Regions from separate parts of the Homo sapiens genome. Here regions 2 and 3 are each linked to region 1. The links are contacts of gene promoters, found by promoter capture Hi-C in human tissues and cell types (Jung and others, 2019). All regions are on one chromosome and are shown on one strand. Each heading gives the region's core, a stretch centred on a gene start or on the middle of the fragment in contact. The rest is flanking DNA. Distances are from core to core; before and after follow the strand shown.

What was found. Contacts are between HindIII fragments. The study calls those that stand out against the background at their distance.
Region 2: a fragment that was not itself captured here is called in contact with the fragment with the promoter of MMP19 in region 1 in 1 of the 25 tissues and cell types used here (dorsolateral prefrontal cortex).
Region 3: a contact is called between a fragment that was not itself captured here and the fragment with the promoter of MMP19 in region 1, in 1 of the 25 tissues and cell types used here (liver).

The regions. Positions count from the first base shown.
Region 1 is chr12:55,841,621-55,844,209 of GRCh38, forward strand. It overlaps MMP19 (matrix metallopeptidase 19), which reads right to left and starts at 1,316. Exons shown (of 9, transcript NM_002429.6): 1 at 1,124-1,316; 2 at 733-818. The coding sequence starts at 1,210. The HindIII fragment of the contact is 8,931 bases long and covers 1-2,589 here.
Region 2 is chr12:56,308,087-56,310,675 of GRCh38, forward strand. CNPY2 (canopy FGF signaling regulator 2) reads right to left here. Exons shown (of 6, transcript NM_014255.7): 6 at 1,758-2,509. The coding sequence ends at 2,466. Among named protein-coding and RNA genes, the nearest start is that of CNPY2-AS1, 2.0 kb to the right of the region's middle. The HindIII fragment of the contact is 3,127 bases long and covers 1-2,589 here.
Region 3 is chr12:56,123,904-56,126,492 of GRCh38, forward strand. ZC3H10 (zinc finger CCCH-type containing 10) reads left to right here. Exons shown (of 3, transcript NM_032786.3): 3 at 1-2,589. Among named protein-coding and RNA genes, the nearest start is that of ESYT1, 3.1 kb to the right of the region's middle. RefSeq lists an enhancer at 2,337-2,589. The HindIII fragment of the contact is 4,314 bases long and covers 1-2,589 here.

The DNA.
Region 1 (2,589 bases), core at 66-2,565:
GTTGCCCAGGTTGCTGTCAAACTTCTGGGCTCAAGCAATCCCCCTGCCTGGATCTCCCAAAGTGCTGGGATTACAGGCGTGAGCCACCATGCCCAGCCCCTCTACTGCAATTTCTAACCTTCTCCTACTCTGTGGAGGTGTCTGGCTCCCCTGCTCTGGAGAGCTTTCCACTAGTGCTCCCACCTGACAGCCTGTCCTCCTTCAGCCTTCTCCCTTCCTGAATGGATACCCGTCCCAGCCCAGCTTGCCCTGGAGCAATTTCATCCATCTATGGACTGTCATAGGGCCTAGGGGCTTTTCAAGGGACCTGAACATATCTGAGAGCAGAAAGAAAAATAATCCATTACATCAACATATAAAACTATAAAATAGAAATAAATAAGTACCAAATTGAAGGCCCACAAAAGGTAATAGCATGTCAACAACTCAACTCAGTTTTACATATCATTACACTTTATGTGGACTATAACTAAATATTAGTATTTGAGATATGATGTGGGTAGAGACTCCAAAGGAATGCTTATGGCCTAGGAAGATCCAATGCCTGTATTCCTCATCTGTGAATCCCCATCTCACCCCATGCCCCACCACCATAATAATGATCGCCACCCATCTCTAAATCCCTGGCATGGTTTAGGGTCAGGAGGAGGTGGGCCTGGGGAGAGGAAGGGATGAGAAGGAAGAAGACCTTGAGACCTTAGCCCTAAAGGCATACACCTCATAGCTTCTCACCTCAGAGCCTCGGTGATATCTTCTGGCTTGAAGTTATTAGATCCTTCTAGAGGCTTCTGTAGGTACCCATATTGTGACAGGTAGTCCTATGATGGGAGTGGAGGTAAGCAGGTTAAAAGGGGGTTAGTCTCAGAGTAAAGCTTCTAAGTGACCTAACAGATCCATCAGGAGAGGAGGGACCTGATATGGAAGCACTAATGGAGAAGCACCTTAGAGAAGGGGCTCAGGTGGAACAAGGGGAAGCAGCGGGAGATGGGCAGGGTAGACCATGGGGCAGAGAGAGCAAGGGAAAGGCAGGCAGGCTGAAGGTCAGGAGGGAGGCTTCGATGGGGCTGTGGAGCAGTAACCCCTGTCCCTCCGCTGGCCCAGGTCTCTTTCTTGGGGGACTTACCACAGGCGCCACCTCTGCAAGCCCCAGGACCCGGCCTGAGACTGTCATGGGGAGTAGGAAGCCCAGCCACAGCTGCTGGCAGTTCATGGTCCCACCAGACGAGAGCTCCAGAGGCTGTCCGTGCCTCTGACCTGAGATTTCTGGGAGCCTTGGGGGAGCAGTGCTAGGCAGAGGGGCTCTTACCCCCAGTTCTTTTTACTCTCCAGCCTCTAGTCCTCTTTATAACAGCTGAGGGGAATTTGGGGGAGAGGCAGAGGGAGGTGACTCAGCCAAGAGATATGTTGCAATTCACCATTAACCCTTGCCCTACCAGAGAGCGGAAGCCAAAGAGAGTTCCCAATCGCTTCCCTCAGAGTCCTCTGCTGGAGATGGAAAAACTTCATACTGCCCTAGGGTGAGCATCCAGGCAGGACGAGAACCAGAATCTCTGGAGAGACTAGAGATAGGGATCATGGACATCCCCTGGAATTAGACATCAATGTGCCTCAGGGACCCTGGGCCAGCAAATCACTCCGCCCCTACCTTTGAGTCTCCCTAGAATAAGCTGAGAGGTAGGAAACAGCTGAGGTAGCTTGGGTTTCAGGTGAAGGAGTCAAGCGTGAAGTCTCAGTTTCTTTGTACCCAAGACCAAGTTGGGAATATAGATGCTCCTGCAACCTACTTATGTCTGCTTTAATAAAAAGTCATTATTTCAAGAATCTAATGAGCCTGGAATATGTGGGTGTAGGTGGGACTTAACAAGGGCACAAATAAGTAAAGGGCCCAGAGCCTACCCTCAGGGAGCTTACGGATCCAGTGAGGCAGATCCAGACACCTGGGAAGAGGGGAGCCAGCGTGCCAGGCCAGAGGTGATTCACCCTAAGGGGCTTGGGGCTGGGGGGAGGTTTGCTGAGAAGTCAGGCTTTGAGATGGGCTTTGAAGGCCAGCTAAGAATTGATGGGGTAAGGCCAGGCATGGTGGCTCGCTCCTGTAATCCTAGCACTTTGAAAGGCTGAGGTGGGTGAATCACTTGAGATCAAGAGTTCGAAACCAGCCTGACCAACATGGTGAAACCTTGTTTCTACTAAAAATACAAAAATTAGCCAGGTATGGTGGCGGGCGCCTGTAATCCCAGCTACTCGGCAGGCTGAGGCAGGAGAATCACGTGAACCCAGGAGGCAGAGGTTGCAGTGAGCTGAGATCACACCATTGCACTCCAGCCTGGGCAACAGAGCAAAAACTCCATCTCAAAAAAAAAAAGAATTGATAGGGTAAAAGGATACTGAGAGACAGACAGTGCAGGTCTTGAGTAAAAGTGCAGAGCTGAGAGACTGCTGTACTCAGTAAGTCAGAAGGGTCACGACTGCTTCATTCACCACTGAAGCCCGAGTGCCTACCCCAGGCCACCTCCATGCTTTCGAGGCTGTGCTTAATAAATCACTGTCAAAGAATGACCAGGGTGGGAAAGTGGTTGGGAGACAGAATTT
Region 2 (2,589 bases), core at 54-2,553, 470 kb after region 1:
TTTAAGTTTCCAGAAGAGAACTCTCTTTATTGTATTTGAGACAGGGTCTCACTCTGTTGCCTAGGCTAGAGTGCAGTAGTGCAATCACAGCTCAGTGCAGCCTCAGCCTCCTGGGTTCGAGAGATCTTGCCACCTTGGCCTCCAGAGTCGCTGGAACCACAGGTGCACACCATTATGCCGGCTAATTTTTGTATTTTTTGTAGCAATGGGGTCTCACTATATTGCCTAGGCTGGTCTCAAACTCCTGGACTCGAGTGATCATGATCCTTCCACCTTGGCCTCCCAAAGTGTTGGGATTATGGGCACGAGCCACCGCATTTGGCTTGAAGAGTACTCTCATTTATACTTCTGATAAGCTTTCTGATGGAAAAGAAAGGCATTTTTAGGCACGAAGCACGAAATGGACAGCACCTTGGGTATACTTTCAGGGACATGAAAAAATGTAATTATTACTTATATGCATCATAGAAGAAAAAATAAGCTTTATAATAGTTGGTTTGGAAAACTAGAGCGAACACAGCATTTCTTATGGATGATGGGAGAAGATGGAATTAACACCAGGCTGATATTAGTTGACAACAAATATCAGAGTGCTTGCTCTGTGCTCTAGTTAATTTGTCAGATTTCACAGGGATTTTTGGTACAAGAAAGCTTTGTGGAATATATGCATTCTATGCGCCAGGCTTAGTGCAAGGTATTATTAGAGAAAAAAGACTTAAAATAGAAGGTACTCTATAGCTATATTAGATCAGGTCAGCACTTGGGAAAGTTAGCTTATAGACCCAGTTTTGCCATTAAATACAGAACTTCATAAAGTTCTATGGCTTCTCTGGGCCTCAGCTTCTTCATCAATAAAATGGGCAGAGGTGAACCAGACGACCTCTAAGGTTCCTTTAGATTCTAAAATGATGTAATTTTTAAAACCTTTGAAATGTTTATTCAGGTCTTCTCTCCTTGAGGTGTTCTTGGGACCGGAGATATTCCATTTGAAACCCTGAGACAACCATACCTCAAGCTCAGAGTGCTTAAGAATTTTCTGCCAGGTGCGGTGGCTCACACCAGTAATCCCAGCATTTGGGGAGGCCAAGGCGGGCGGATCATGAGGTCAGGAGATCGAGACCATCCTGGCTAACACGGTGAAACCCTGCCTCTACTAAAAATACAAAAAAATTAGCCAGTGCAGGCCGGGCGCGGTGGCTCACGCCTGTAATCCCAGCAGTTTGGGAGGCCAAGGCGGGCGGATCACGAAGTCAGGAGATCGAGACCATCCTGGCTAACATGGTGAAACCCCGTCTCTACTAAAAATACAAAAAATTAGCCGGGCGTGGTGGCGGGTGCCTATAGTCCCAGCTACTTGGGAGGCTGAGGCAGGAGAATGGTGTGAACCCGGGAGGCGAAGCTTGCAGTAAGCCGAGATCGCGCCACTGTACTCCAGCCTGGGCGATAGAGCGAGACTCTGTCTCACAAAAAAAAAAAAAAAAAAATTAGCCGGTGTGGTGGCGGGCGCCTGTAGTCCCAGCTACTCGGGAGGCTGAGTCAGGATAATGGCGTGAACCTGGGAGGCAGAGCTTGTAGTGAGCCGAGATCGCGCCACTGTACTCCAGCCTAGGCGACAGAGCGGGACTCCATCTCAGAAAAAAAAAGAAAAAAAGAATTTCCCAAAAGAAGGTATCCTTTAGGTTTTCATCCCTATGCCCCAGTCTGGAATCTCTACACACAGAATTGTGGACAGACTTATAGTCCAGATTGACAATGGCTAGTGATAGATACACTTTATTGTTGCCACTGGCATCAAATTTAAAAGCTTAGGCTGGCAAGCAAGGCCTCTCATTAAACAACCTTCCTTACCTCGTCTGTCCCTATCCGATAAAGCCCTTACTTTTCAGCTGAGTTGGTCACATCCATTTTCCCCTTCCTGTCTCTGTTCTTGCTGGTCCCTCCATCTGGATGGGCAGGGAAGGAAGAATAATGCATATCCGTTATTTCCTTCAAGACCAAGCCCTGTCTTACTTTATGTTTCAACAGCCATGAACACAAGGGATTTCTAGAATTCTACACTACCATACACTATGTTCCCCTGCTTCCTCATGGAGGTTCCTCTATTCTCCACAATTAGACTCTAAAGACGTGGTATTGAGTGGGCACTGACTGAAAGCTTATCTAGTTTATGAGTGGAGTGGAATCTCAGAAGGTAGAAGAATTAAAGGTTCAGGCCTCTCCTACCTTTATCCTGTATCAATCCCAAAACTCTTCTTTCTCCTCCATTATCTTTCCTGTCTATATAACTCCTTATCTTCAAGCTTAATGTAAGGGCAATTCCAGGCATGAAAAGACAACACAGTTTGTACTTTTGGTTTCATATTTTTTCAGTTAATTTCAGTAAAAACATAATATATAAAAGGCATTGCCACCATTTTCCCCTCCTGGGGGTGATCCATCAAGCCAGTGTGGGCTGCTCCAGTGGTTCATAGCTCATCATGCGATATGTGCAGGGCATGGTCACAAAGATCTGCAAATGGCAAACAATTTAAAGGAATATGCCATTCTCATACTGATATCTGCCAGTATCAAGAAAATTTCCCAGACCAA
Region 3 (2,589 bases), core at 49-2,548, 280 kb after region 1:
AAGAATACACCTGGTAATTGAGCAAGTTGGGTTTAATGCTCATTGCAGTGAGGGGGAGGGCTCACCATTGGGGATAACGTGGTGTGTCTCAGCATGAGGGTGTTAGGAACGACTTAGAGAACTTAGACTTTGGTTAAGTGATTTTGGGGAAGATTCAAGAAAGTGGGTGTTCTTTTGGATTGGGTGCTGTTAAGGGAATCCAGGATAATTGGGTAGCTTGTCTAGAAGAAGGGCAGACAAGTGAACCTAAGCACAGTCGATGATGAAGTCACTCACTAGCTGGGAAAGGGGATGTTTGCTGTTTTGTGGTTTGCACACTGACCTTGTTTTGTGCTTAAACAAAATTGTGTAGTGATTTTGTTTTTTGTCTCACTTCATCGCAGTCACTGAGTGACCTTGTCTGATGCTGGTGTTTTGTGAGATTGTTTGTGTCCAAGAGAACTCATTGGCTACCTGTGAGCACCAGGTCAGCCCTAACAGCTCTGAAGCCTGGCTGTGTCAGGCCAGTTCCCAGATTACAGGAGCTACTTTCCTCTCTCTCACCTGCTAAGTCATCACAGATAAGAGGAAAATTACGGGTCAGTTAATCGTAGCATTTTTTCCATGCAAATGGCTCTGGTTAAAAAATAATGAGAAAAAAATAGTAGCATTTGGTAGAATCAAACTGAACACTTGTACTTAGTGTTGGTTAGCGCATTTATGTTAGAGAAATCTCTGTTCTCTAGTGATAAGCCCAAGGGCTATGTTTTATTGTAAAAAGAAAAAACCCAACTCGGGTAAACATGTAAAAAACCCATTTATCAACAGTAACACAGGAAGAGCTAAATAATATTCAAAGTGTCTGTAACTTGAATTGACTAAAACACTGGAGCACTCTCACACTAAAAAATTGCTTAGATCTTGAACTAGTTTGAGGAACAATGTTAGAGATTTATATTAGCAATAATTCACATGAGAACAAACTGGGACTTCCAGTTGGCTGCAAAAAAATAGAATCTTAGCCCTCAAGATGTCCATTTATAAATATTTATTAAGAGCCTGCTATGTTCTAGGCATCTTTCTAGGAGCTCCATAAGGGTAGTAGAACCTTGGTAATAGATTACAAATACAGCAGTTCTATGTTCTGCCTAAGTGTAACCACTTAGTAGTGTGTTGTTCTAAATGTAATTTTTAAAGAGGGCCATTGACAAACCAGTGTGTTGCTAGAAAAAAAAGGCTGGCAAGAGAAAGCTTCAAATAGAAGTCTTCAAATATTTGAAGGGCTGCCCAGTGGAGGAAGATCCTGTTTGCTACACAGGAAGTAAAAAGGGATTTCTAGAATAATGGCTAACTTTTTTTTTTTTTTTTTTTTTGAGACGGAGTCTAGCTGTGTGGCCCAGGCTTCAGTGCAGTGGCACGATCTCTGCTCACTGCAAACTCTGCCTCCAGGGTTTACGCCATTCTGCTGCCTCAGCCTCCAGAGTAGCTGGGACTATAGGTGCCCAGCTAATTTTCTTTTTGTATTTTTAGTAGAGACGGGGTTTCACCGTGTTAGCCAGGACGGTCTCCATATCCTGACCTCGTGATCCGCCCACCTCGGCCTCCCAAAGTGCTGGGATTACAGGCGTTGAGCCACCGCACCCAGCCGGCTAGCATTTGTTGACTGCTTAATATAAGCCAAGGCTCTGTGCTAGGCACTTTACATGCAACATCTCATTGACACAATGGGTAATATTATTGTACCCATTTTACAGAGGAGAAAGCAGGCTTAAAAAGTAACCTGCCCAGGGTTCTGCAAGTAAGGAATGGGGCCAGGAATCTATTCAGGCAGTCTCACTCCAGACGACAAAAGAAAGTTCTAATGATATAGCCATCCAACAAAGCGATCACTACTTGGCAGTAATTTTTTTTTTTTTTTTTTGAGACGGAGTATCACTCTGTTGCCCAGGCTGGAGTGTAGTGGCGTGATCTCGGCCCACTGCAGCCTCCGCCTCTCGGGTTCAAGTGATTCTCCTGCCTCAGCCTCCCAAGTAGAGTAACTGGGATTACAGGTACATGCCACCATGCTCGGCTAATTTTTGTATTTTTAGTAGAGACGGGGTTTCGCCATGTTGGCCAGGCTGGTCTTGAACTCCTGACCTCAGGTGATCCAACTGCCTCGGCCTTCCAAAGTGCTGGGATTACAGGCATGAGCCACCGCGACTGGCTTGGCAGTAACTTTTGAGGAATAAAGAATACAGAAGGAGTTTCCTCAAATCTTGTTGCCCTTCCCATCTTTGTGAGCTGAGATCAGAGTACCGTATCTCACCCTCTGCCTCTTGGAGGTGATTATGGTTTACATATAAATGCAGATTGCAAGTCCAGGAAGTTTACTCTCTCTCCTCCTGTAGGCCTCATCCTGTAAGACACTTCCTCTAACAAATGGGCATCCCTTCCTGTTGTCCACTTACTGCTTATCACCACCAGGTGGCACCTGGGCAGCAGAATTGTCAGTGGGCGGGGACCCACCCTGTTTACTTGTGTTGGTAACTGCATTGCAGCTGCTGATCCTGTGGCTCCTGGGCCCCAGCTGGGACAAGAACTTCCTGAGGATGAAGTTTTATCCCCTAT